Regions from separate parts of the Homo sapiens genome. Here all the other regions are linked to region 1. Evidence: promoter capture Hi-C in human tissues and cell types (Jung and others, 2019). All regions are on one chromosome and are shown on one strand. Each heading gives the region's core, a stretch centred on a gene start or on the middle of the fragment in contact. The rest is flanking DNA. Distances are from core to core; before and after follow the strand shown. Region 1 holds the start of PDE3A (phosphodiesterase 3A). Region 2 overlaps LINC02398 (long intergenic non-protein coding RNA 2398). Region 3 overlaps LINC02398 (long intergenic non-protein coding RNA 2398). Region 4 overlaps LINC02398 (long intergenic non-protein coding RNA 2398). Region 5 overlaps LOC105369685 (a long non-coding RNA gene).

Evidence for each region. Contacts are between HindIII fragments. The study calls those that stand out against the background at their distance.
Region 2: a fragment that was not itself captured here is called in contact with the fragment with the promoter of PDE3A in region 1 in 2 of the 25 tissues and cell types used here (bladder and mesenchymal stem cells).
Region 3: a contact is called between a fragment that was not itself captured here and the fragment with the promoter of PDE3A in region 1, in 1 of the 25 tissues and cell types used here (aorta).
Region 4: a contact is called between a fragment that was not itself captured here and the fragment with the promoter of PDE3A in region 1, in 2 of the 25 tissues and cell types used here (bladder and heart right ventricle).
Region 5: a contact is called between a fragment that was not itself captured here and the fragment with the promoter of PDE3A in region 1, in 1 of the 25 tissues and cell types used here (dorsolateral prefrontal cortex).

What each region holds. Positions count from the first base shown.
Region 1 is chr12:20,365,444-20,370,840 of GRCh38, forward strand. It overlaps PDE3A (phosphodiesterase 3A), which reads left to right and starts at 3,094. Exons shown (of 16, transcript NM_000921.5): 1 at 3,094-4,801. The coding sequence starts at 3,842. PDE3A-AS1 (PDE3A antisense RNA 1) reads right to left here and starts at 4,813. Exons shown (of 2, transcript NR_186033.1): 1 at 4,398-4,813. RefSeq lists a silencer at 4,132-4,426. The HindIII fragment of the contact is 7,833 bases long and covers 1,055-5,397 here.
Region 2 is chr12:20,018,563-20,023,959 of GRCh38, forward strand. It overlaps LINC02398 (long intergenic non-protein coding RNA 2398), which reads left to right. Exons shown (of 3, transcript NR_040098.1): 2 at 1,070-1,134. Among named protein-coding and RNA genes, the nearest start is that of LINC02398, 6.6 kb to the left of the region's middle. The HindIII fragment of the contact is 4,103 bases long and covers 872-4,974 here.
Region 3 is chr12:20,038,799-20,044,195 of GRCh38, forward strand. All of the region lies in intron 2 of LINC02398 (long intergenic non-protein coding RNA 2398), which reads left to right. LOC124902893 (a long non-coding RNA gene) reads left to right here. Exons shown (of 2, transcript XR_007063238.1): 2 at 1-652. Among named protein-coding and RNA genes, the nearest start is that of LINC02398, 27 kb to the left of the region's middle. The HindIII fragment of the contact is 5,431 bases long and covers 76-5,397 here.
Region 4 is chr12:20,067,149-20,072,545 of GRCh38, forward strand. All of the region lies in intron 2 of LINC02398 (long intergenic non-protein coding RNA 2398), which reads left to right. Among named protein-coding and RNA genes, the nearest start is that of LINC02398, 55 kb to the left of the region's middle. The HindIII fragment of the contact is 4,269 bases long and covers 153-4,421 here.
Region 5 is chr12:20,102,092-20,107,488 of GRCh38, forward strand. It overlaps LOC105369685 (a long non-coding RNA gene), which reads right to left. Exons shown (of 4, transcript XR_001749038.3): 2 at 3,582-3,750; 3 at 2,528-2,696. Among named protein-coding and RNA genes, the nearest start is that of LINC02468, 23 kb to the right of the region's middle. The HindIII fragment of the contact is 4,215 bases long and covers 1,127-5,341 here.

The sequences.
Region 1 (5,397 bases), core at 1,844-4,343:
GATGGGTAGCCTTTGGGTAGTTTTAAATAGGGGAGGGACATAATTCAATTTATATTTTTAAAGTGTTACTCTGCTATATAGAAAATGAATTATAAGTAGGGCAAGATCAGTTAGTTACTGCACTTGTCCTGGCCAAGGAAGATGATGGGTCTTTGGCAGGTTATTATAAGAGGGACAGTGAAAAGTAAATGGATTTAGAATATATTTTAGAGACAGGATCAAGTGGATTTCCTAATCGACTAAAAGTAAAACAAGATAAACAAAGGAAAGAATCAAGACCCGTTCCCTCTTCTGGGGCCTGAGCAACTAGGTAGATGGTTATGTTCTTTACTGGGATGTAACAAGATTGAGAAAATATAGTTTGGGTGGGTAGGGGATAGGTAGGAAGGGAATTGTAAGTTAAGAATTTTGTTTTGGATACCTTATGTTTTAGGTACCTATTAGATATAAATATATAATAATCAGATAGGTAGCAGAGAATGATTGAACCCATACTACGGAACGTAAACTTACTGAATTTTACAATAGAATCCCCTGACGCTTAACTATATTTAATAAAGCTCAAATGTGAAGGGTTAGATCCTTTTCCCAAAAAACTGTAAAAACATGTTTGCTAGATTTGACTAAGTGGAAGATTTATCAAGTAAAACTTAAATTTTTATTTCTGTTGTCCATGCTCTACTATTTTTCTGCACGTACAACATTTTCCTTATTCTTTGGCTGTGTTGTCACTTTCTTGAACTAGGACTCACCACTATCTGTAGAAAAGAGGCAGTGTTTATATGTGATTGCTCCCTATCCAGTTTATGTATTGCAGCTTATTTCATTTAATATACTCTGTTAAAGGTACATTATTAGTCGCTTCTTTCAGTTAGTATAGCCCTGCAGGTTTCTGCATCTCTCTAACATTAGCATTTTGTTGTCTTTGTTCACTTGCCTCTGGGTTCTGGATGGTATGGGGAGAAAAATCTACCTTCTTTCCTTTTGATGGGACAAATAACTTTTTGATTATGATTTGTTAAAGAAACCTGGATGCCAGGACATTGCCTCCTTATTTTATTGAAGAGTTCCAGGATGTTATTAACACATGGATTTAGAATATTCTTGTTTTGCTGCCATTAGCAAATGCCATTTTTTCCTGTTACAACTTTTAAAAAACATCTGCTTCCCATACCTTAAGTGTTCAGTTTTTATGATAATATTATATTAAATTTTCTAAAGAACTGAGATAATTGTGGGGGTAGGGGACAGATAAAATTGAAATATTCTAAAATTTCCCTTACTATGCTTTTCTTTTTAACCTTGATATATGCCAGATTTTTGGTTTATTATTTTAATATGTTATTTTTGATGCCAACAGATATGAATGATTTTCCAATCAAGGTTTTTCACTCCGATGTGTCCCAGGTAGGATCTGGCATATGAATCATATGTCTAAAAAGGAAACTCATGAAAGTATGTGTGCGTGCTAGGGGGCTCATTTGTCTTTGGCAAAGACATTGCTGCTCCTGTTTCCTTAATTATTAAACAGATGGTGCCCACTGCCATTGACTAGCTGCCCAACTCATACTCCTGTGTGGTAGCACAATTCTGGACATCTGACAGAGAGAAGCTATACCTTTATAGTATATCTGCCTTCTACTAGAACAGGCTGCTTCCCATGAAGCTGTTTAAAACTTAAGTCATCTTCTCCCCCTGTCCCCATAAATTAATTTTATCTCAAGGATCTCCTTTTGGCTTTTTTTATTGCTTCATGTCTACATACAAAATACAGTGGCATATTGAATCAATTATCTAAATGCTCTAGGCTGTAAATACACTTTAACCTGGAATGTCAAGATAATTAAGACAAAATTGGATTATTAAGATTATTATTAGTGAGGGCAAATGACATCTAAGATAGCCATGTTAAAAGTGGAGTATCATATTAAAAAGACAACTAGATCCCAGGGAACATCAATAGAGTTTAAGTCCATTGAACAGATACTGAATTCTTTTTCATAATCTGCCAAAAAAAGGTTAGCTTGAAAATTTTCTTTTAGTTTCTCAAATATCACACTGCTGCAGTACACGAACCTTTACTCATTAATAACTAAGGTCCTGATTTTTTTCATATGCTTTGCTCGAAGATGTAGTATTTTGCAGCCATAGACAGTCTTCTAAGATCTCTCCTAGTGTTAACCCACCTATCCTCACCTCTCCCTTGAGATTTTTCTTTATTTTTTGATGAACTATCTGGGCTTTTAAACTTTGTTAACCTTTTTTGAGGATACGGTCACTTAATCTCAATGTAATTTTACTTTCCACAGTCAAAAACTATTGTGTAATACTCATGCACTGGATTTAAATGACTGCTGCCTCTCCTTCCTTTCTTTTTATACTATTGTGGTCTAGGTAAGGCTGATTCTTCCATCATTTGAACCAACAGGCCAGGCTTGGGTTCTCATAAAGCAGACCTTCCAGCAGGAGCGACCAAAGGATGACACTGTCACCTGAAATTGGACTGCTGTTGTACCTGACTTGGGAACATCTTTGAATCAGACAGTAGAAGTGGCTGTCATTTTCAGGGACAGTAGAAAGTATGTTGGCTCTCATCTGCCAAGTAGGCAAACACAATCTTTTTTTTTTTTTTTTCCTTCCAACGTTCTAGGGAGCTCAGCCTCAGGGCTAGCCGCAGCCCCCCACACCCCGGGGCTGCGGTGGGCTGCGCGGTGGATCAGCCTCAGCAGCCCCTGCTCCAGCCTGTAGGGTGAACCGGCCGCTTTCCCAGCAAAGGAGCAATCGAGCTGAGGGTAGCGCCTCCTCCGCAGGAGGGGGCGGGAGCTCGGCTGAGAAAGCTTTCCTAGGGAGTTGCCTTAAAGAAAGAAAGCGGAATTGTCGATCACTCCAGTTGCCAGTTTTATACAATTTTAAGCAGTCGTCGCCACTCGTTTCCCCTTTGCAAAACTGCAAATCACCACCAACCTTGCATCAAATAGAAGTGGGGAGGGAAAAAAAAAGCAAATCTCCTTCTCCCTTCTCACCCTCCCTTTCTTCTCACCCTCCCTTCCTCTCTTACTCGCTCCTTCTCCCTCCCTCCCTTCTGCGGCTGCCGCTAGTCTCTCGGTCTGGCTCTCTCTCCGACGGGACTTAGCAACTTCTTATTTCTCAGCCCCTTGTCCATTTTTTTTTTTCCATCCTTTGCCATGAATTGGATTGACAGAGGCGGGGGAGGCTTTGCTTTCTGCCCCAGGGAATGGCGATTCGCGTCCTGGGGCCGTGCCGGGGAGAATCGGCCGAGGAGAAAGAAAGAGTGATAGAAAAAGAGCTGCAGGAAGGAGGAGAAGGGAGACCTCCATCTGCCGCGGGCCCGGCGCGCTGCAGCGCAGCGCAGCGCCGAGCTGCGCCTCGGAATGGCCCGGAGCCCGCCCTGCGCCCCCGGCTCCTCCAGCGTCAGCGGCTCCTGCGCGCGGGATGCATTGGGCAATTTTTGAAATCCTGAAGTAGGAAGAGACCCCGGAGGATATAAGTCGGGGGTGGGGGTGGAGCAGAGAATCTGTGAAAGATATTCAAAGAGAGAAAAGGGGAATCCTGATCGTTTCTGCCCGTGCTTGTTTTCAACTTGAGCGTGCTAGCCTTTAACTTGAAGAAGTCTCATTGGAGCATCTAGCATTCTCCAGGAGTTATTCGAAAGCTGAAACTTTCAGTGGATTGTGGGCCTGGGGAGAAGAAGGATTCCGAGGGTGGAATTGGGAAGAGCGTGCGTGCGTGTGTGTGTGTGTGTGTGTGCGCGCGCGCGCGTGGGTCGGGGCGGGGGCGTCGGGGGGCCACTGGGAATTCAGTGAAGAGGGCACCCTATACCATGGCAGTGCCCGGCGACGCTGCACGAGTCAGGGACAAGCCCGTCCACAGTGGGGTGAGTCAAGCCCCCACGGCGGGCCGGGACTGCCACCATCGTGCGGACCCCGCATCGCCGCGGGACTCGGGCTGCCGTGGCTGCTGGGGAGACCTGGTGCTGCAGCCGCTCCGGAGCTCTCGGAAACTTTCCTCCGCGCTGTGCGCGGGCTCCCTGTCCTTTCTGCTGGCGCTGCTGGTGAGGCTGGTCCGCGGGGAGGTCGGCTGTGACCTGGAGCAGTGTAAGGAGGCGGCGGCGGCGGAGGAGGAGGAAGCAGCCCCGGGAGCAGAAGGGGGCGTCTTCCCGGGGCCTCGGGGAGGTGCTCCCGGGGGCGGTGCGCGGCTCAGCCCCTGGCTGCAGCCCTCGGCGCTGCTCTTCAGTCTCCTGTGTGCCTTCTTCTGGATGGGCTTGTACCTCCTGCGCGCCGGGGTGCGCCTGCCTCTGGCTGTCGCGCTGCTGGCCGCCTGCTGCGGGGGGGAAGCGCTCGTCCAGATTGGGCTGGGCGTCGGGGAGGATCACTTACTCTCACTCCCCGCCGCGGGGGTGGTGCTCAGCTGCTTGGCCGCCGCGACATGGCTGGTGCTGAGGCTGAGGCTGGGCGTCCTCATGATCGCCTTGACTAGCGCGGTCAGGACCGTGTCCCTCATTTCCTTAGAGAGGTTCAAGGTCGCCTGGAGACCTTACCTGGCGTACCTGGCCGGCGTGCTGGGGATCCTCTTGGCCAGGTACGTGGAACAAATCTTGCCGCAGTCCGCGGAGGCGGCTCCAAGGGAGCATTTGGGGTCCCAGCTGATTGCTGGGACCAAGGAAGATATCCCGGTGTTTAAGAGGAGGAGGCGGTCCAGCTCCGTCGTGTCCGCCGAGATGTCCGGCTGCAGCAGCAAGTCCCATCGGAGGACCTCCCTGCCCTGTATACCGAGGGAACAGGTAAGCACTGGCAACTCCTCTCTCGGCTCTTGGAAACTTGAAACACTTGGCAACCGGCGCAGAGTGGAGAGAATCCGAGCGCTGGGAACTAAAGGGAAGATAGCCTAGAAAACTGGTCTAACTTCAGAATTAAGAAACTAGCAGGTTTTTTTTTTGTTTTTTTTGTTTTTTTTTTTTTGTTTTTTTGCCCTCTCTTTCACACAGTAGTTTTATAACCTGAACGACTGAAACACAATTAACAAAACTAGATGGCATGTGTAGGGTCTTCCACAGCTGGGCCAACTTTTTAGATCTGCTACACCTGGTGTATGGCTTGCCTACTCTTTTCAGTACTCTTACGCTTTCCTTCCTTAGCAGAAATTTTAGAATTAAGTTTAGATTTTAGCAATGAGTGATTTTTTTAACACATAGATTTTACTAGATTTCTACTTTTTAAAAAGTAAAATCTTTTTAATGAAATGATATTAAACATTTATGAAAACCAGTAAAAAGATTCTAGAGCAAAGCAAGCTGTGCTTGAAGGTGAGGAATTGATACACATTTTCTGGTTTTGCAGTAAGTTTTATTTGGAGAGACTGCAGCTGATGGTGCCCAAT
Region 2 (5,397 bases), core at 1,673-4,172, 350 kb before region 1:
TGAAGGGTGAGGATTGTAAATAAACATCAAAAGGAGTAATTGTTCTTTAGATGACGTCTGTTTATAATAGGAGGCATGAGTTATGCAATGCATCTCAAATAAAAGATGTTTTATTACCATCATTGCACGTTACCTGAGTTACTTATATGACCAATGTAAAGTTAGATAAGTGGAGAGAAATAGTCCACACTGGGGATGGGGACGGTGGCTCACTCCTGTAATCCCAGCACTTTGGGAGGCTGAGGCAGGTAGATCACTTGAGGTCAGGAGTTCAAGACCAGCTTGGCCAACATGGTGAAGCCCCATCTCTACTAAAAATACAAAAATTATCCAGGCGTGGTAGTGGGTGCCTGTAATCCCAGCTACTCAGGAGGCTGAGGAAGGAGAATTGCTTGAACCCAGGAGGCAAAGGTTGCAGTGAGCCAAGATCGCTCCGCTGCACTCCAGCCTGGACAACAGAGCGAGACTCCATCTCAAAAACAAACAAACAAACAAAAACAGATAGTCCATAGTCCACAATGGGTCTTAGAGGATAATGCATTCTGAGCTACCATTTCAAATTAAAAAAAATTGTTAACTTGTTTCCAAAGACACTGATCTGTGTTTGACTACAGCCAAAAATGCCAGCATGATGCCAGGTATAACCAGGATTTAGAATAAAACTAAAAACATGTACACACACACACTCGTAACGAGGGAATTATATAGAAAATTCATATAGTCACTTCTAACTTGAGTATTGTATGACATTGCTAAAATTTTAAAGAATATGTTTACTTATTTTTTACTGTTAATCTTGCTAGATAATTGGCAAGATAATAATATTTTTAATTTGAATATATGTCATTAAACATAACATTTCCAGAAACTTGTTAAGGAAAGAAGATAAGTATAAATGTTTATGGCATGTAAGACAGTGACTCTAAGGTTAATAGGCAAATCAAGTTGCTGTAGGAAAGGAGAATATTAAATTTGTTTTGTTTAAACCACTAAATTGGTGGTAATTTGTTACAGCAGCAAAGATAACTAATATATATCTCATAACATTCTTCATCCTCACTTTTTCCAGCTTCTAAAGGGCCTCGCACATTCCTTGGCTTGTGATGTCCCTTCCCCATCATCAAAGACAGCAACGTGAGTTAAGTCCTTACCATATCACATAACCCTGAACTTACTTCTGTCATTACATCTATTTCTCTGACTCTGTTCTTCTGCCTCTCTCTTCTACTTTTGAGCGTCCTTGTGAATACATACCCAGAATAATCTCCCTATTTTAAGGAGAAATCTTGATTCCATCTGCTACCTTAATTTCCCTTTGCCATATACTGTAACATATTCACAAGCCCTGGGGATTAGAATGTGGACATCTTTAGGAAGTCATTGTTCTGCCTACCACAGATACATTGGGCAAATAGTTACCAAAGAAAGCTGGTATAGTAATAGTAATACCTGGCAAAATTGTGTTTAAATCAAAATATATTAGTAAGGAAAGGGAGAAACTGCAAAATGATAAAATCTACCAAGAAGATATACAATGTAATTGTCAATAAGAAGTAAAGCCAAGACTTGGAGCTAGGTTTGTGTCTACTGGTTCAATGTTCCTACCAACAAAAACCTCTAAAGAACACAGACCTATAAAAACCTCTACTTGAAGCCCACTGTGCAAGTACTGGTAAATTTCTTGCCCAAAATGAAAATAATAATTATAACCTGCACCATAGGGCTATTGTAAAAAATACCTTAGGATTGAGACACACTGCAGCTATCATATAAACGTTAAATAAAAATAATGCTTCCTGTATCCTTACTAGGGTTGGGCAAATCCAGATGTATATTATACTTTTCACATATTTCAAAATATTTTCAAATGTTTTGGTTTGGGTTCAACAAAAACCTCAAGTACAAAAAAAAAAAAATAGAAAGGAGAATATTTTTTGAGTCGGAGTCTTGCTCTGTCACCCAGGCTGGAGTGCAGTGGCGCCATCTCAGCTCACTGCAAGCTCCATCTCCCGGGTTCATGCCATTCTCCTGCCTCAGCCTCCCAAGTAGCTGGGACTACAGGTGCCCGCCACCACACCCAGCCAATTTTTTGTATTTTTAGTAGAGACAGGGTTTCACCGTGTTAGCCAGGATGGTCTCGATCTCCTGACCTCGTGATCTGCCCACCTCGGCCTCCCAAAGTGCTGAGATTACGGGCATGAGCCACCGCGCCCGGCTGAAACTATACATATATTTTTAAAGAACTAGAAAAACAAGCTGAAGCTAGCCACTGTATTTAAAGCTATTTATTCCTTTCACTGGTGGCTATCACATTATTTACATTTTTCCCTTTGTTGCAAACTTACAAATTCATATTGTTCCCTTTTTTAGTATATTTTATGTACTAACTTTCTTAGTCATTTAAAAAGTTTTTTTCTGATAATATAATAGTGATATCTTTATTATCAATTAATGGAATATATGATGCTAATTGATTTTTCAGGCAGTTGACAGAACAGCAAGTTATAAATATTTTAACCATTTGAGGAGTATTCTTCCTAAAATCTAGTACATAGTTCCCTACTGAAAAGGATATACTGATAAAATATAACTTTTGTCATGTGGGCCAAAAAGATTATGAAGTTGCAATAGTCTATTTTGTTGTCATTTGACTTTTGGAGTTTTATTTAGCTTTCAGTTTTGTGTCATATCTACATACATAGGTGGATATTCCATCAAGGGCAGGGATTAGTACTCTGAGTTCAGCATGGTGCTCTGCACATAGTAAGTGGGTGGTAAATATTTGTGAGTTATATATTATGAGCTAAATTGTGTCTCCTGAAATTCATATGTTGAAATCTTAACCCCCAGTACCACAAAATGTGACTGTATTTGGAAATAGGGTCTTTAAAGAGGTAATTAAGTTAAAAAGAGGTCATTAAGGTGGGCTCTAATCCAGTATGACTGGTGCCCTCATAAAAAGAGGAAATTTGGACACAGACACATACAGAAGGAAGATGATCTGAAGACTCAGGGAAAAGGTGGTCATTGCTCTTTGATCTCAACCTTCTAGCCTCCAGAACCAGGAGAACAAAATTTCTGTTGTTTAAATCAATCACCCAATCTGTGACGCTTTGTTATGACAACCCCCTAGAAAGTACTGATAAATGATAATCCTATGTTGCCCTATGAGAGAACAAAGTTTGCCAACAGAACCTTATGCTTTTATTATTCTTATGTCTTCCTTCCTTCCTTCCTTTCTTTTTTGTCTTGTGCCTTCTTCGTAGGTCTCAAAGTATCAACTATGAACTATTACTTAAAAGTGCTTGAATACTAGAATATTCACTTGATACAAATAATTAAAACTCTCAAAGCCTTTGTGGTTGTTTTTATTTCTGCATTTCAAGTTGTATTTTGAGCTTTTTTTTTTTGGAAAGATTCTGCGTAACTGGAGTTATAGCAGCAGAGTTCTATTTGAAACTCTTTTCTGTACTAACGTTTTGACTTTGTCACTTTACTTCTCTGTCAAAGGAGACTGGTGATAATACTTTATTAGGGAGCAGTGGGATTCAAATGAAATACTGCATGTGAAAAATTACTTTGCAAACTTAGCAGTGTAACACAAACACTCATCATCATAACTAGAAGTCTGGCCTCCTGACAAATACCTGTTGACAAGTAAGGATTTGTTGTACCAGTCAGTTTATTGTTAACTAATAATAGATTATTTAAAACACTGATAGCTGTAGCCCTGTGTTGAATCGGATCATACATCAAATGTATGTAGTCATTTCTTTGAAAATAGAGGATGACGAGGAAAAGTTCTAAATTCATGTTGTGAAAGGATTGTCTGTAGTTTCTTTGGAATTTTTTTAAAATAAAGAGATAAAATTTTTTTCTTTTCTCTTTTAATAATTTTGAATTATATTTTTCCCCTAATTTAAACTTATGTTTTATTTATTTTTGATTAGTTAGCATGACATACCTTTTTGTTTTTGTTTTGTTTTTTTGAGTCTTGCTTTTGTCACCCAGGCTGGAGTGTAGTGGCTCAATCTCGGCTCACTGCAACCTCGGCCGCCCTGGTTCAAGCTTCTCCTGCCTCAGCCTCCTGAGTAGCTGGGATTACAGGTGCCTGCCACCACACCCGGCTAATTTTTGTACTTTTAGTAGAAATGGGGTTTTGCCATGTTGGCCAGGCTGGTCTTGAGCTCCTGACCTCAGGTGATCTGCCCGCCTCAGCCTCCCAAAGTGCTGGGATTACAGGCGTGAGCCACTGTGCTTGGCCAGCATGACATATCTTTAAAAAATTTTTTTTAAGAGACTAGGTGTTGCTCTCTGCCCAGACTGGAGCGCAGTGGCATCATCACAGGTCACTGAATCCTTGAAATCCTGGGCTCAAGAGATCCTCCCGCCTCAGCCACCTGAGTAGTTGGGATCACAGGTGTGCGCCACCACCACCACGCCTGTCTAATTTTCTTTTTCTTTTTTAGAGACTGAGTCCAACTGTCTTGCCCAGGCTGGTCTCAAACTCCTGGACTCAAGCAGTCCTCCTACCTTGGTGCCACCACGTGCTGGGATTACAGTTGTGAGCCACTGCACTTAACCTGACATATCATTTTTTAATCCTCTTAATTTTTTAAAAAGTTTTTTATTGTTAAATTGTGGATAAAATTGTATACATTTATCATGTACAACATGATGTTTTGAAGTACATATACATTGTGGAATAATCAAGTTACATTCTACAGTGGTTCATATGACCACAAATTTATAGAAGTTCAAATGGAATTTTTATTAACAATGGTTAGTTTAGATTTTATTTAATTTATTGACATACAAGTATTAGATATGACTCAAATGTGAGTATGTTGCCTAATGTATCTATTTTCTCTTTTATCAGTTATGTTTTATGAAGCAATTTGAAAATAAATAAATTAGCCCCAAACTATATAACCAGTGATACCCAGTTTTAAATGCAATTATTTTCAAATGTATGGTGGGTGACACCAAACAGTTGTCGGTTAGCAGCAGCCTCATGGTAATTAATGCACCTAGTTTGTTTGCCAGATTTGTCTAGCCACTTCATTATTGTCTACTTGTAAAATTCAGTATGGTGCTTTGAAAAGAGGTACAGTATTTATGTATTTATTTTTAGATTAGTTTATATTCCAATAACTTTTCAACATATTCCTATCTCTTCTTTTTCATGCTAGTTTCATGTACATGTAACACCTAATGTTAGATCCTCACACCTCTGGGTATGTTCTAAACCCTCTCAGTGAACACAGGCTTGATAGGATGAGAGGATGGCCCTTTTGAAGGACCAAAACCTTAAAAATGACATTAGTCTCTACAGAAACAAAAGGCCTCTTAGTAAAAGTTGAGGATGCAAATTTACAGCAAAAGTCTCCTTCAAGT
Region 3 (5,397 bases), core at 1,541-4,040, 330 kb before region 1:
TAGAGAAGTTGTTGGGTGCCATGGCCTTATGTAGGGCTAAGGCACAAATAGCTTTGCTCACCTTTGCTTTTGCACCAACAGTGCAAATGTGAACACAAAGAAGTAAAGAACACTTTAGTATAATAATAAAAACACTGTTGATCTTTCTAACTCCTGAAAAGTTCTCTAGGACCCCTATGGGTCCATAGAATACATTTTCAAGACTGCTGCCCTAGAGCAATATTTTGATTTCACTCACAATTCAGAAACTCTTAGAGGTAAAATACTAATTCATATCTGTTGGTTTTAAAAGCACATGCTTTTTTTTTCTATTTTCAATAATCAGTTTAACCAATATGAATTTTTTTATTTTTAGTAAGAGTGTTACTTAATGCCATATCTCATGGCTCAAATGGTAGTAAATGACCAAAACAGCATAGGAGAAAGTAGCAAATGTACGTTTAGTCTCATCATAAGGAAAGAATAGTGCTAGAAAAATAAATGGTCTTTTTCTATATCATCTGTTGTAAGGACACTTTGCATGGAAAATTGGAAAGATTTTTATGTATGTTTATTCTCATCATGTTTGCCATTTTACCATTTAGCTACTCCACTTGTAAATTTTTATTACTAAAATTGTCTAATCTCATTAAAATGAGTTTATACCAGTAAATGGTGGTGCTTTTGAGTCTAAACAAAAATATACAAATTTCACTTCATTATATTCACAGTAGGCAGCTCACTCGAGCAATATTTTCCCATTCTGACATGTGCTGTCAGGATCTATGGCCTTTCTCAAGAAAGAAAGAAATTCTCTTTGCAAAATACAGTAAAAACTAAGCTTCTATTCTGAATTTGTAAATTTTCCTTTCTTGACACAGACATGAACTGCTGCTGTCTTAAATCTTGCACTCCCAAAGGAAAGTGCGCCTTCCCGCTGTCTTTTCTTTCTTTATTCTCACCCCTCCGCATATAAATCTAGTCTGCTCGTGCTTTCCAAACTGTCTACACTTTTTACAGAATAGCAACAATGGATGAGACTACTGAAAAGATGTGCCATGTTGGTATAGTAGCTATTATTTCAACAATGCCAAGCAATAGCACAGCAAAGGAGATGCAATCTTCCTAGAATTAGTTTTACTTTAAATGAGAACAATCTTAGTAAATCTGATAAATTAACAAAAATAAAACCCTCTGGTTACTTCAGATAAAGTGCAAAGAAAACAAGCTCTTTCAGTTTCCTCATTTCAAGTGAAGTTCGCAGGGGAATTATTTGACTTTACAACTTTATGATATGTTTGATGCATTTTTAGTACTTTGTGTATTTTTCATTGTAACATTTTAAATGACTGTTAAGGAGTTAGAGTGACCATCCACAGCACACATGGAAAAATGCTGCTTAGAAGCATGGGACATTAATAAGTGAACTGATATTTATATCTTAGAATTTGTTTACTTTTTTGAGAATCTCATTAGAAACCTATGCTGGGATATAAAATTCTTTAGGCAGATTTCACTAAGTAGAGCCAATTGTCCTTTGTTTCTTTTGCTGAACCCAGTATTGCATAAAACTGCCAATGCACAACCAAGCTGTAGGCTGATGGAAAACAACATCAGCCAAGAGATTCACCTAGAAGCCAGCTAACGGAGCTGGGTTCCCTTTTGGTGTGAAGGCATCAGAAGACCATCAGCTCTAGAAATAAAACTGAAAAAAAAAAAAAAAAGAAAAAAGAAAAAAAAAAACAACTCTGGCAAGCCGTGTGGAGAAAGACTATGGCTGACAACACATAACTAGTCTTTATCTTTCCAAGGTGATGTGAGAGTTCTTAATTCACTTTTATCTTTTGCAGATGCCCAGAAATAGTTCTAGGCATTTTGAAATCATCGCTAATAGAATAACAATACATACAAGTAATATGGTGCTGGATTTTGAATGGCTGTTAGTAAGACAAACAGCTCCACAAAGTCAATTCTCTCCTTAATACCCACTGTCCTAAACATTTTGCATTAGTCTTTCTTGTTCTCAGTACCTTACATAATCACATTTGCATCCCATCTGTCCCCACCCCCACCATGATTTTTCCCTCCATTTAGAAGGGAAAGTAAAGAAAAATATTTTCTTACCAAATTCTTTTGCTCTCTCACTTTTTCTGCATTGACACAGCAACCAAGCCAGCTGTCAGCAGAGGCTGCTTGGTGCTTTAGAAACGTGTATCAGCAGAACACATTCTGTCCTTGTGCCAGGGCAAATTAGAGGAGCAGCCAGCAGGGTGGTTACTGGTTCTGGTAAGGAGAGAAGCGTCTACTCAGCACTCACTTTTCTATCCCTGCCCACCTGCCCCTTTCCGTCCTGACTTCCTGCTTGCAGGGATCCTTCTTTCACCTCTCTAGGGCTGGTGCTATGGAGCTCTGAATTCACCAGTTATTATATTGATTGTGAGGTTCCAGTGCTCTTCCTAACCTGCAAGAAATAATTAGAACCCGCTCCTTCTTAACCCTACACCACTAATTTTCAAACACAGGTGTGTTGTGTAAAGTGTGAAGCATCTGAGACTTTGTAGGTAGGCAAGGGATCTTCATTTTTAATAAATATAAGGTAATTTTAACTAAAATAATCTCAAGATTAATTTTGAGAAACATTTAAAAATTGTATTTCCACCTCTTCTTAGGGCATCGTGCAACCTTGGATATGGGGAAAGGAGGACATTGGAAAAACTTCCAAGTGAATCTGATTCTGGACCCGTCCTTGACAACCATTTCTCTAGACCAGGAATCCTCAATTCTGGCTCTACCATAGACTCAGCTAGGGAGGGCTTTTTGTTTGTTTGTTTGCTTTTTAATGTAGATACCCAGATCCATCCACCCCCAAAGATTCTGATTTACTAACTATTGGTATTTTAAAAAATCTCCCCAAGTGACTCTAATATATAAGTCTCAAGTAAATGTTCTCAAAGTGTGGTTCCCAGATCACCATCACTTGAGAACATGTTAGAAATGCACGTATTCAGACCCATCCCAGATCTACTGAATCAGAAATTCTGGGATTGGAACCAGCAACCCATCTTTAGAGACCTCAGGTGATTCTAATACATGCTAAAGTTTGAAAACCACTGCTCTAGACCAAACTTCAAACTTCAAAAAAAATAGATATTTAGATAATACAGTTGAAGCTTAAACAACATGGGTTTGAACTGCAGAGATATTTTTTCAACTACATGTGGATGGGAAATACAGTGTTTATGGGATATGAAACCTGAGTATATGGAGGGCTGACTTTTTCCATATGTAGACACCAACTGCGGGGACTTAATTATATCTTCCATCTCTTCCATGTTAGTATAATATTTGCACACATATACCTTAGCAAATAATCTAATGCCATTCCTAACATAATGGTTGATTTGCTATAGGCAGAACATTTAATTAATTACAGTGATAGAAAATAATATAACCTCCCCACCAAGAGATGTAGGATGCAGTTAACCTTGCTACTCATTACTGTATCACGTTTAGTGTCAGCATTCTTCTAAAATAAGTGTAAGAACTTAAAAAATGAATAAGATGCTGAAAGAGGATGAGCACAACTTTATAGCATTTCTCCTCTCTCCCCCAATATTACATGGAAAGGGTAGAAAATATGGCATTCAATACATTAAGCAGCTTTCTAAATGTGGCTTCCTTTCAAATTCATTTTAAAGTTTAATAAAGTTGTGACATTTATTTGGCAGTTATGCGGTAAGATATTTTTATATACCAGTGCAGATTCTAAGAGTATACGAGTATCAGATTCCTTAGTCTTTATAATAACATTTGAGGTAGGTATGGCTACAATATAAAGGAGGGAAGCAAGACGAGGAGAGATGAAGTAATTTACCCAAGATGACCCAGCTATCAAGTGGCTGAGCCTATGCCCTTAGTAACTACATTATACAGGCAAAATCAAAGCTGTGGATTGGTTCTTTAATGTCTTAAAACTTTATTTTGGTCAAAACCACTTTTTCTCCATGACCTATATTTTTCTTCTTATTTCTCTAGTGTTTCTTTTTGCATTTGTTTCTAATTTTTCATTGTTTTTTGGGGAAAATGTTTTATGTCACTTCTGTTTATGACATACATTATGATTTTTCTGTTTTTAATCGGTTGGGGTAAGTAACTGAAAAAAAAATCTGCCCTTTCAATCACAGGATGTTTTGAATCTATTGTTTTAACTAAGTTGAGATGTTATTTGCATAAGTAAAAAGAGGTAAACATATTTCATTTTCAAATTTTCCCAGGCGATGTTAGCAGGTTCCTCTACTTCTTCCGAGAAAGATGAATTTGACTATTGGAATAAAGTCTCCACCGAATTTAATCATTTTCCCAGGATTTGTTTTTCATATTCTTTATCACATTGATAGGTTTCTACATGTTGTGGGTTTGGCAAGGTATTATATAGAAGGGCCAGAAAGCTAATGTCTTGATATTTCTGTGTCAAAACAGTCAGAGGAATTCAAGCTGTCAGGTGTCAGAGAAAGTCTACACCTTATAAATTCTTGGCTCAGTTTTGTAAACCTAGCACTTTTGAATAAACCTCCAGTTTTCTCATTTATGATGAACAATGTGGTGTTTTCTTGCACCATAGTTTACATTTTCAGAAAAAAGGAAGGATGAAAACAAGGGGAGTAAGAGACGGGTGTTTTCTAAAATTCTAAATTGAGTACATAATAATTAGGAGATATATCAAAAGATTAAAACTGACTAGATGTTACTGAATATTATGAATAACTTAATAGGTCTTATTTCTGCTGCTTTCTGACAGAACTGAGGATGGAGAAGTTTATTTGGACCAGTCAGTGTAGTTAGTAAGAGAGTTGATTGATCTAAGGGCCTATATTTTCAACCTCTGTCATTTTTTACCCCTCTACATTTTTATTTCTTGTACCTCTGGGCACAAATAAGATCTACAGGGCTGTGCAGGGCTGGGCCTAAGCTGGTTGGAGGCCCCACATTTTGGGCAGATCCTCAGGTGTTCACTACTCTGCTCTTCTGTATTCAGTCCCGTGGTGCTTGTGTTGAGCCATTTGTAAATCCTGGTGTAGGTGAAAGTGCCTGACCTGTAGAGGGTATAGTGTCTTGGGTGTAAATCCTGACTTGAAACCACATTGCTGCATTACTTCAGAAAAATGACTTAACCCCTCAACCACTCATTTTCTTCATTTATAAAACTAAAATACAAATATCCACCTTATAAATTTATGACGAGTCTATGATTAATAACAACACCAGCCGCAGTGATAACATTAACAGTAACAGAACAATGCAGTAGCCAGACCCTCTTCTGAAATGTGGAGCACAATATTAGCTCAACAAACATGATCTGGTATCTTTGACAACTTCCCAAATTGCTAACAGAAGATAGTCTAGATATCGAGCAACATT
Region 4 (5,397 bases), core at 1,037-3,536, 300 kb before region 1:
CCCCTTCAGGCCTAACCCTGACCCATCCTTCCTCATTGGATGGGGCTTCTTTGCAGGATCTCCAATAACTCCCACCAGAGGCTCAGGGAAAGAATTTGAATCTCCCTGGGCTTGAGCCTCTAGGGGAGGAGTAGCCTCAGTCTCTGCAGACCAGCAGACTTAGCCTTTCCTCCTGGTTGTTCTGAAGAATCTGGGGAGCCCAGGTGAGTGGGTTTCCCCGCAGCAAAGCACACCCTCTCCACCAAGGGACAAAGTGCTTTGTTAAATGGGTCCTGCTCCCCATGCCACCCAACTAGGTGAGACCATCCAACAGGGGTTGTCAGACACCCTATACAGGAACGATCCTACTGGCATCAGGTTGGTGACCCTCAAGGTCAGAGGTCCCAGAAGAAGGAGTAGGCACCCAGCTTTGCTTTTCTCCAGCCTCCTTGATTGACATTTCCAAGCACAGGAGCAAATCAGATGAATAGGGCCTGAAATGAACCACCAGCAAACTGCAGCAGCCCTACAGAAGAGGGACCTGACTATTGAAAGAAAAATAAACAAGCACGAAGTGACCACAATACCATCAACAACAACAACAACAACAAAAGACCCCCACAAAAACCCCATCCAAGGATCAGCAGCCTCAAAGACCAAAACTAGACAAACTCATGAAGATGAGAAAGAATCGATGAAAAAAATGCTGAAAACCCAAAAGGTCAGAGTGCCTGTTTTCCTCCAAATGATTGCAATGTCTCTCCATCAAGGGCTCAGAACTGGGCAGAGGATCAGATGGACGAATTGACAGAAGTAGGCTTCAGAAGACGGATAATAAAAAACTACGCTGAGCTAAAGGAGCATGTTTTGACTCAATGCAAAGAAGCTAAGAACCTTGATAAAAGGTTAGAGGAATTGCTAACTAGAATAACCAGGTTAGAAAGAAACATAAATGACCTGATAGAGCTGAAAAACACAGCACGAGAACGTCATGAAGCATATGCAAGTATCAACAGCCAAATCGACCAAGTGGAAGAAAGAATATCAGAGTTTGAAGACCACCTTACTGAAATAAGACATGCAGACAAGAATACAGAAAAAAGAATGAAAAGGAATGAACAAAGCCTCCAAGAAATATCAGACTTCATAAAAAGACCAAACCTATGATTGATTGGAGTACCATAAGGAGAGGGGGAGAATGGAAACAAGCTGGAAAACACACTTCAGGATATTACCCAGGAGAACTTCCCCAGTCTAGCAAGACAGGCTAACATGCAAATTGAGAAAATACGGAGAACACCATTAAGATACTCCATGAGAAGATCAACCACAAGACACATAATCATCAGATTCTTCAAGATCGAAATGAAGGAAAAACTATTAAGGGCAGCCAGAGAGAAAGGCCAGGTCACCTACAAAGGTAAGCCCATCAGACTAACAGCGGGCCACTCAGCAGAAACTCTACAAGCCAGAAAAGACTGGGGTCCAATATTTAACATTCTCAAAGAAAAGAATTTTCAACCCAAAATTTCATATCCAGGCAAACTAAGCTTCACAAGTGAAGGAGAAATAAAATCCTTTCCGGACAAGCAAATGGTGAGGGATATTGTTACCACCAGGCCTGCCCTGCAAGAGCTCATTGAAGAAGCACTAAATATGGAAAGGAAAAACTTGCACCAGCCACTGCAAAAACACACCAAAATATAAAGACCAATGACACAATAAAGAAACTGCATCAACTCGTGTGCAAAATAACCAAATAGCATCATGATGACAGGATCAAATTCATACATAACAATACTAACCTTAAATATAATGGGCTAAATGCCCCAATTAAAAGACACACAATTAAATGCCAATTGGATAAAGAATCAAAACCCATAGATGTGCTGTATTCAGGAGACCTATCTTACATACAAAGACACACACAGGCTTAAAATAAAGGGATGGAGGAAATTAACCAAGCAAATGGAAAACAAAAAAAAAGCAGGGGTTGCAATCCTATTCTTTGACAAGACAGACTTTAAACCAACAAAGATAAAAAAAAGACAAAGAGCATTACACAATGGTAAAGGGAACAATTCAACCAGCAGAGCTAACTATTCTGAATATATATATGAGCCCAATACAGGAGCACCCAGCTTCATAAAACAAGTTCTTAGAGACCTACAAAGAGACTTAGACTCCCACACAATAACAGTGGGAGACTTTAACACCCCAGTGTCAGTATTAGATCAACAAGACAGAAAATTAACAAGGATATTCAGGACTTGAACTCAGCTCTGGGTCAAGTGGACCTAGTAGATGTCTACAGAACTCTCTACCCCAAATCAACAGAATATACATTTTTCTCAGAGCCACGTGGCACCTTTTCTAAAATCGACCACATAATTGGAAGTAAAACACTCCTCAGCAAATAAATGCAAAAGAGCTGTAATCATAACAGTCTCTCAGACCATAGTGCAATTAAATTAGAACTCAGGATGAAGAAACTCACTCAAAACTACACAATTTCATGGAAATAGAACAACCTGCTTCTGAACGACTCCTGGGTAAATAAGGAAATTAAGATAGAAATCAAGAAGTTCTTTGAAACAAATGAGAACAAAGAGACAACGTACCAGAATATCTGGCACACAGCTAAAACAGTGTTAAGAGGGAAATTTATCGCACCAAATGCCCACATCAGAAAGCTAGAAAGACACCCTAATATCACAATTAAAAGAGCTAGAGAGGCAAGAGCAAACTAATCCAAAAGCTAGTAGAAGACAAGATGTAACTAAGATCAGAGAAGAATTGAAGGAGATACAGATGTGAAAAACCCTCAAAAAAATCCATGAATCCAAGAGATGGCTTTTTGAAAAAATTAAAAAAATAAATAGACCACTAGCTAGACTAATAAGAAAAGAGAGAAGAATCAAGTGGACACAATAAAAAATGACTAAGGTGATATCACCACTGACCCCACAGAAATACGAACTACCATCAGGGATCACTACAAACACCTCTATGCAAATAAACTAGAAAATCTAGAAGAAATGGATGATTTTCTGGATGCATAACCCCTACCAAGAATAACCAGGAAGATATTGAATCCCTGAATAGACCAATAACAAGCTCTGAAATTGAGGCAGTAATTAATAGCCTACCAGCCAAAAAAATCCCAGGACCAGATGGATTCACAGCCAAATTCTACCAGAAATACAAAGAAGAGGTAGTACTATTCATTCAGGAACTATTCCAAACAATTGAAAAGGAGGGACTCCTCTCTAATTCATTTTATGAAGCCAGCATCATCCTGATACCAAAACCGAGAAGACACAACAAAAAAATAAAACTTCAGGCCAATATCTCTGATGAAAATCGATGCAAAAATCCTCAATAAAATACTGGCAAATTGAATCCAGCAGCACATCAAAAAACTTATCCACCACGATCAAGTCAGCTTCATCCCTGGCATGCAAGGCTGGTTCAACATATGCAAATCAATAAACATAATCCATCACATAAACAGAACCAAAGACAAAAACCACATAATTATCTCAATAGATGCAGAAAAGGCCTTTGATAAAATTCAACATCCCTTCATGCTAAAAATTCTCAATAAACTGGGTATTGATGGAACACACCTCAAAATAATAAGAGCTATTTATGACAAACCCATAGCTAGTATCATTTTGAATGGGCAAAAGCTGAAATCATTCCCTTTGAAAACCAGTCCAAGACAAGGATGCCCTGTCTCACCACTCCTATTCAACATAGTATTGGAAGTTCTGGCCAGGGCAATTAGGTAAGAGAAAGAAATAAAGGGTATTCAAATAGGAAGAGAGAAAGTCAAGTTGTCTCTTTTTGAAGATGACATGATTTTATATTTAGAAAACCCTATCATCTCAGGCCAAAAGCTTCTTGAACTGTTTAACAACTTCAGCAAAGTCTCGGGATACAAAATCAATATGCAAAAGTCACTAGCATTCCTTTACGCCTACAATAGGCACGCAGAGAGCCAAATTAAGAACTCCCATTTACAATTGCTACTAAGAGAACAAAATACCTAGGGATACAGCTAACCAGGGATGTGAAGGACCTCTTCAAGGAGAACTACAAATCACTGCTCATGGAAATAAGAGAAGACACAAACAAATGGAAAAACATTCTATTCTCGTGGATAGGAAGAATCAATACCACAAAAATGGCCATACTACCCAAAGTAATTTATAGATTCAATGCTATTCCCATCAAACTACCGTTGACATTCTTCACAGAATTAGAAAAAACTATTTTAAATTTCATATGGAATCAAAGAAAACCCTGTACAGCCAAGACAATCCTAAGCAAAAAGAATAAAGCTGGAGGCATCACACTACCTGACTTCAGACTATACTACAAGGCCACAGTAACTAAAACAGTATGATGCTGGTACCAAAACAGACATTTACACCAATGGAGCAGAAAAGAGACCTCAAAATAACACCACACATCTACAACCATCTGATCTTTGACAAACCTGACAAAAACAAGCAATGGGGAAAAGATCTCCTAGTCGGTAAATGGTGCTAGGAAAACTGGCTAGCCACATGCAGAAAACTGAAACTGGGTCTCTTCCTTATACCTTATACAAAAATTAATTCAAGATGGATTAAAGACTTAAATGTAATTCCCCAAAACTATAAAAACCCCAGAAGAAAACCTAGGCAATACCATTCAGGACATAGGCATGGGCAAAGACTTCATGACAAAAATGCCAAAAGCAATTGCAACAAAAGCCAAATTTGACAAATGGGGTCTAATTAAACTGAAGAGCTTCTGCACAGCAAAAGAAGCTGCCATCAGAGTGAACAGGCAACTTACAGAATGGGAGAAAATTTTTGCAATCTACCCATTTGACAAAGGTCTAATGTCCAGAATTTACAAGGAAGTTAAACATATTTACGAGAAAAAATAAACAATCCCATCAAAAAGTGGGCAAAGGATGTGAACAGAAGCTTATTAAAAGAAGACATTTATGTGGCAACAAACATACGAAAAAAAGCTCAACATCACTGGTCATCAGAGAAATAGAAATCAAAACCACAATGGGATACCATCTCACACCAGTCAGAATGGCAACTATTAAAAACTCAGGAAACAATAGATACTGGTGAGGCTGTGGAGAAATAGGAATGCTTTTACACTGTTGGTGGGAATGTAAATTAGTTTAACCATTGTGGAAGACAGTGTGGCGATTCCTCAAGGATCTAGAACCAGAAATACCACTTGACCCAGCAATCCCATTACTGGGTATATACCCAAAGGAATAAAAATCATCTTACTATAAAGATACATGCACACGTATGTTTATTGCAGCACTGTTTACAATAGCAAAGACATGGAACCAACTCAAATGCCCATCAATGATAGACAGGATAAAGAAAATGTGGT
Region 5 (5,397 bases), core at 1,984-4,483, 260 kb before region 1:
AAAGCACCATAAGTTCTCACTATGGGCTGCAACCTCCACCTGGAGCTGGCAGCCCAGCCCCCAGGCTTCAGGCCATCCCTGGCTTGAGGGTGGGGTTTCACCAGGAACCCACCCCTTTCTCCCCAGGAGTCTGTGTGCCTCCTGTTGTCCACCATGCCCAGGCTGTTCATACAGAGGGGCACCTGCAGGCCTGTGCCAAGCTGCCCTCAGCCCCCAGCTTGGCCTCCCTCCCATGCTAGGTTAGTGCCCAAAGTCTGGAGGGGGCCAAGGCAGCAGGAGGCTGGTGTGTCAGTCCCACCCCAAGTGTGTGCACAGCCAGCAGGGTTGCAACAGTGCTCAGGCTCAGCCACGACTTCATTCTGTCCTGGAGCGGGTGCAAGGAGTGGGGAAAGGCCAGGGAGCAGGAGCAGGTACCTCCAAGCCTGCCTAGGAAAGAGGGCTTCCTTGCCCCTAAGAATGCAGGGATGCCTGGGTCGAGAGCCACAGCTGAGCAGCTGCAATTGTGCCTGGGAGTGTGGGGCTCCCGCTCTGCCAATTGGGTAGGGGGCTGGGTTCCACCTATTCCCAGCCCTGCCAGCTCCACAGGGCATGCAGCCCCAGCCATGCCTCCCCCTGCTGTAGTCGGCATCTTTGCAGAGACCACTCTGGATGGGACACCGCTGCCATCACTTTGACCTACATATGTATGGAAAACATGTTATGTATTCATTTTATATTATTTCCAAAAATATTTTTATTATTTTGTCTTAAAGTTTCAATAGGATCTGAAAAGAGATAGCTAAGAATTTGGATTTTTGGGCCAGGAGCGGTGGCTCACGCCTGTAATCCCAGCACTTTGGGAGGCCAAGGCAGGTGGATCACAAGGTCAGGAGATCGAGACAATCCTGGCTAACACGGTGAAACCCCATCCCTACTAAAAAAAAAAATACAAAAAACAATTAGCCGGGCATGGTGGTGGGCACCTGTAGTCCCAGCTGCTCGGGAGGCTGAGGCAGGAGAATGGCATGAACCCAGGAGGTGGAGCTTGCAGTGAGCCGAGATCACGCCACTGCACTCCAGCCTGGGCGACAGAGCAAGACTCCGTCTCAAAAAAAAAAAAAAAAAAAAAGAATTTGGATTTTTGAAAAAATGCTGCTTGTTAGATAAATCTGAGCTCTTGCCATTTCCTAATCACATTGATGATTTAGAAAATTAGTAGAGAATCTATAGACGGGGTCACACTCCTGTCACCCAGGCTGGAGTGCAGTGGTATGATCATGGCTAACTGCAGCCTTGAGTTGCTGAGCTCAGGTGATTCTCCTGCCTGAGCCTCCCGTGTAGCTGTGACTTGAAGATGTGCCACCATACCTGGCTAGTTTTTTATATTTTTAGTAGAGATGGGGTTTTTCCATGTTGCCAGACTGGTCTCAAACTCCTGGGTTCAAGTGTTCTGCCTGCCCTGGCCTCCCAAAGTGCTGGGATTACAAGTGTGAGCTACCGCACCCAGCCATATTTTTATTCATTCATATAATGAATGGCATCTCATTTATGTTTCATGCCAGACCAATGTTCCAGGGTCTTGCACTGATTCCCACATACATTGTGTCAATGACTGGCATAATAACACTGTCTTATAGTAATAATAATAGAATCTATTTATGAGGATATTTTAGAAAATCAGTGAGCTATAAAATCTACTTGATTGGAGCAGATTGTAAACCACAGCTATTGTTTTGTTGGGTTAATCAAAGCATCAAAAATTATAGATTAAGGACTTCTCTATTTTCTGTCAAAAGGGAACTAAGAATATGTTCTCATGGGTATGAAGTGAACAATAATTCTCTCTCTTTCTCTCCCATATTCACTTTTCTATTTGTCTCTGAGTAGAAAATTATCCAGTAGACACTAATGGTCTACATGGCTGTTTAGAGAATTTTTTTTTTTTTTTGAGATGGAGTCTCACTTTGTCACCCAGGCTGGAGTGCAGTGGCGCGATGTCGGCCCACTGCAACCTCCACCTCCTGGGTTCAAGCAATTCTCCTGCCTCAGCCTCCCAGGTAGCTGGGATTACAGGCGCCTGCCACCACGCCCAGCTAATTTTTGTATTTTTAGTAGAGGCAGGATTTCACCATGTTGGCCAGGCTGGTATTGAACTCCTGGCCTCAGGTGATCTGCCCGTCCCAGCCTCCCAAAGTGCTTGGATTGCAGGTGTGAACCACTGTGCCCAGCCTTAGAGAAAAATTTATGCCAACTGAGTACAAAATGATCGGAGGTAACACCATCATCCAGAGAAGAGTAAAACCAACATGTGAAGGGCATGAATTCTATCTGGATGGATTTATTGGCTCAACCAATACATTACAATTACATATTTGGCATTTACCATGCATTCAGTGTGGGAGCACTTATAAGATAACTTACTGACCATATACTTGCAACTTATTTGGATAGATGAATGTGGTAAGATGTCTTAGTCTGTTTTGTGTTGCTTATAACAGAGTACCTGAAACATGGGGTAATTTATAAAGAAAAGGAATTTATTTCTTACAGTTAAAAAGACTGAGAAGTCCAGGGTCTAAGGGCTGCATTTGGTGAGTGCCGTCTTGTTGGTAAGGACTCTGCAGTCTTGAGGTGGTGCAGGGCATCACATGGTGAAGGAGCTGAGTGTGCCAGCTCAGGTGCCTCCTCCTCTTCTTACAGAGCCACCAGTCCCACTCCTGTGAAAACCCATCCATTGACCCATTTATCCATTAATCTATGAATGGATTAATCCATCCCTCATGACCCAGTCACCTCCTAAAGGCCCACCTCTCAATACTGCCAGGCTGGGGATTAAGCTTCAACATAAATTTCAGAGGAGACAACCATTGAAACCATAGTGTAGGATAATGTGCAAACAACCAATGTATTTCCCATTCTCTATTCACTCTCATTCGTATACTTTAGACTTGTGACCGGACTGCATTTTGGCCAGCCAGAGGTTTTTCAAAGGGAATCTGTCATGAATAGCTTTAAGACAGGAAAAAATTAGGAAAAGAGGTGACTGGGCAGAAGCAGCCACCCACTCCACCACCGTATAAGCTAATCTTGTTAAGCTGTAGAGGGAAGGAGGGAGTTAGACAACCATAATCTTAGAAAACATAGAAAAAGGGAATATTACAGCATTTCTTATTAAATGTAGGAATGTAAGTCTGAGAGTAGAGAGACTAAATGGCTCTTTTCACTGGAATGCCAGAAAGTGTAGTCTTACAGATGTGTCCTGGCCATAGACGTGACAATAGGCAATGAAAAGAGCTGTTTAGAAACTATAAGTGGCAGAGAGGGCTAAAAATAGCCCTAAATTTCTTTTCATCCCAAGAGAGCAGCTAAATTTTCTCAGTACTTTAGTAAAAGGCATAGAAGTTTGCTCAGCAAGAAATCCTACTTCCCAGAAAGGCCTTACACAGGTGACGTGGGTTATAGAATTATATTCTGTCAGTCATCTATTGCTGCGTTACATTCCTGCCCTCCAAAACCTAATGGCTTCAAACAACAACCATGTATGTGCCCATGATTCTGAAATTTTGCCTTGGGTAAGCCAGGCTGTTTTCCGCAGGCCTCACCTGGGCTTGCTCAGGTAGTAGCAGTCATCGGTGGCTTGACTGGGGCCGGGCAGGGAGGCTGCATCGAAGGTAGCATCCCTCTCATGTCTGGGGTGTTGGTGTTGGCTATTGCCTTTGTAATCAATGATCTGTGAAATCTCTTATCCTTCAAAAGTTGGATCCAGGCTTCCTTAAACAACAAGGGTAATTTCCAAGCATGTAAAGAAAAAGCTGCAAGACTTATTGAGAATTAGGCTCTAGAACTCATACAACACTTTTTAATCACGTTCTGTTAGTCAAAACAAGTCAGAAGGTAAGCCTATTTTCAAGGAATAGGTAAATAGATTCCACTACTTAATGACAGGAGTTGCAATGTTTTTGTGGCCATATTTAATATATCACAGTCCTCTCTCTGGCTACCATTATTTACATTCTTCCCAAGCAACACATGCTGATCTCTCTTACCAAAGTCTCATCTCTTGAAGTGTTTAGACTTGTGCAATGCATTACCATGGCTATGTGCCACATGTGGCTACTGAGCACTTGAAATATGGCAGGTATGAATTGAGTTGTGCTGTTATTGGAAATACACACAGGATTTCAAAGACTTAGTAGGAAGATTGTAAAATATCTTTTAAATACCTTTTTATATTGATTATGTGTTTACATCATAATTTGGACATATTGGGTTACATAAAATATATTTTAAAAATTATTTTCACCTGTTTTTAAGTTTGCTTACTTTTTTATGTACCTGCAGCAAAAAATCACATAAGTGGCTTGTATTATATTTCTATTGCATAGCAGAGATTTAGACCAATGGTTGGTGAACTTTTTTTGTAATGGACCAAATAAATATTTTTGGCCTTGTGGGCCACACAATTTCAGTTGCACCTATTCAACTCTCATTGTCATACAAAGCAGCCATAGATAATATATAAACAAATGAGCATGGCTGTGTTCCAATAAAACTTTATTTACAAAAATGGGTGGCAGACTGGATTTGGCCTGTAAGGCAGTATTTTGTTTCACTTGTCTGACATCTTTAACATTTAATGTAATTATTAATATGGTTGGATTTCAGTGTACCATTTTGGGGAGCGGGAACGGGCTTGTTTTTTCTGTTTTTTGTTTCTTCTTTTTCTGCCTTCTATTGGATTGACAGTTTTTGTTTTAATATTTCATTTTAATTTATCTGTTGTCTTTTTGGTTACATCTCTGTATTTTTAAAGTGGAATTATGAGGATTATCATATACATACTTAAACTTTTATAAATATCTAGGCCTAAATACACGTCTTTGATCTTTTTGTGTTAATCCATAGATCCTTTAGGCTATAGATATTTTAAAAAACATTTTTTCTCTCAGTTCTTCATATGGATACTTTTTATTGACATATCTCCAAATTCACAGAATCTTTTCTTTGTCACTTCATTCTACTTTCAAGACCATTAATTGACATTTTTATTTCAGGCATTGTATTTTTTTAGTCCTTAAGTTTTCACTTCTCTTTTTTATAGTGTATATATCTCTATTGTGATTTTCTATTTTTCATTTATTTTTTGTTTTCCTTTTTGTATGGATGTAGTTATTACAGCTGCCTTTCCGTTAAGAATGGGACTTTGGGGCTGGGTGTGTTGGCTCATGCCTATAATCTCAGCACTTTGGGAGGCCGAGGCGGGCTAATCACAAGGTCAGGAGTTTGAGACTAGTCTGGGCAACATAGTGAAACCCCGTCTCTACTAAAAATACAAAAAAATTAGCCAGGTGTGGTGGTGTGCGCCTGTAATCCCAGCTACTCGGGAGGCTGAGGCAGGAGAATCACATGAACCCGGGA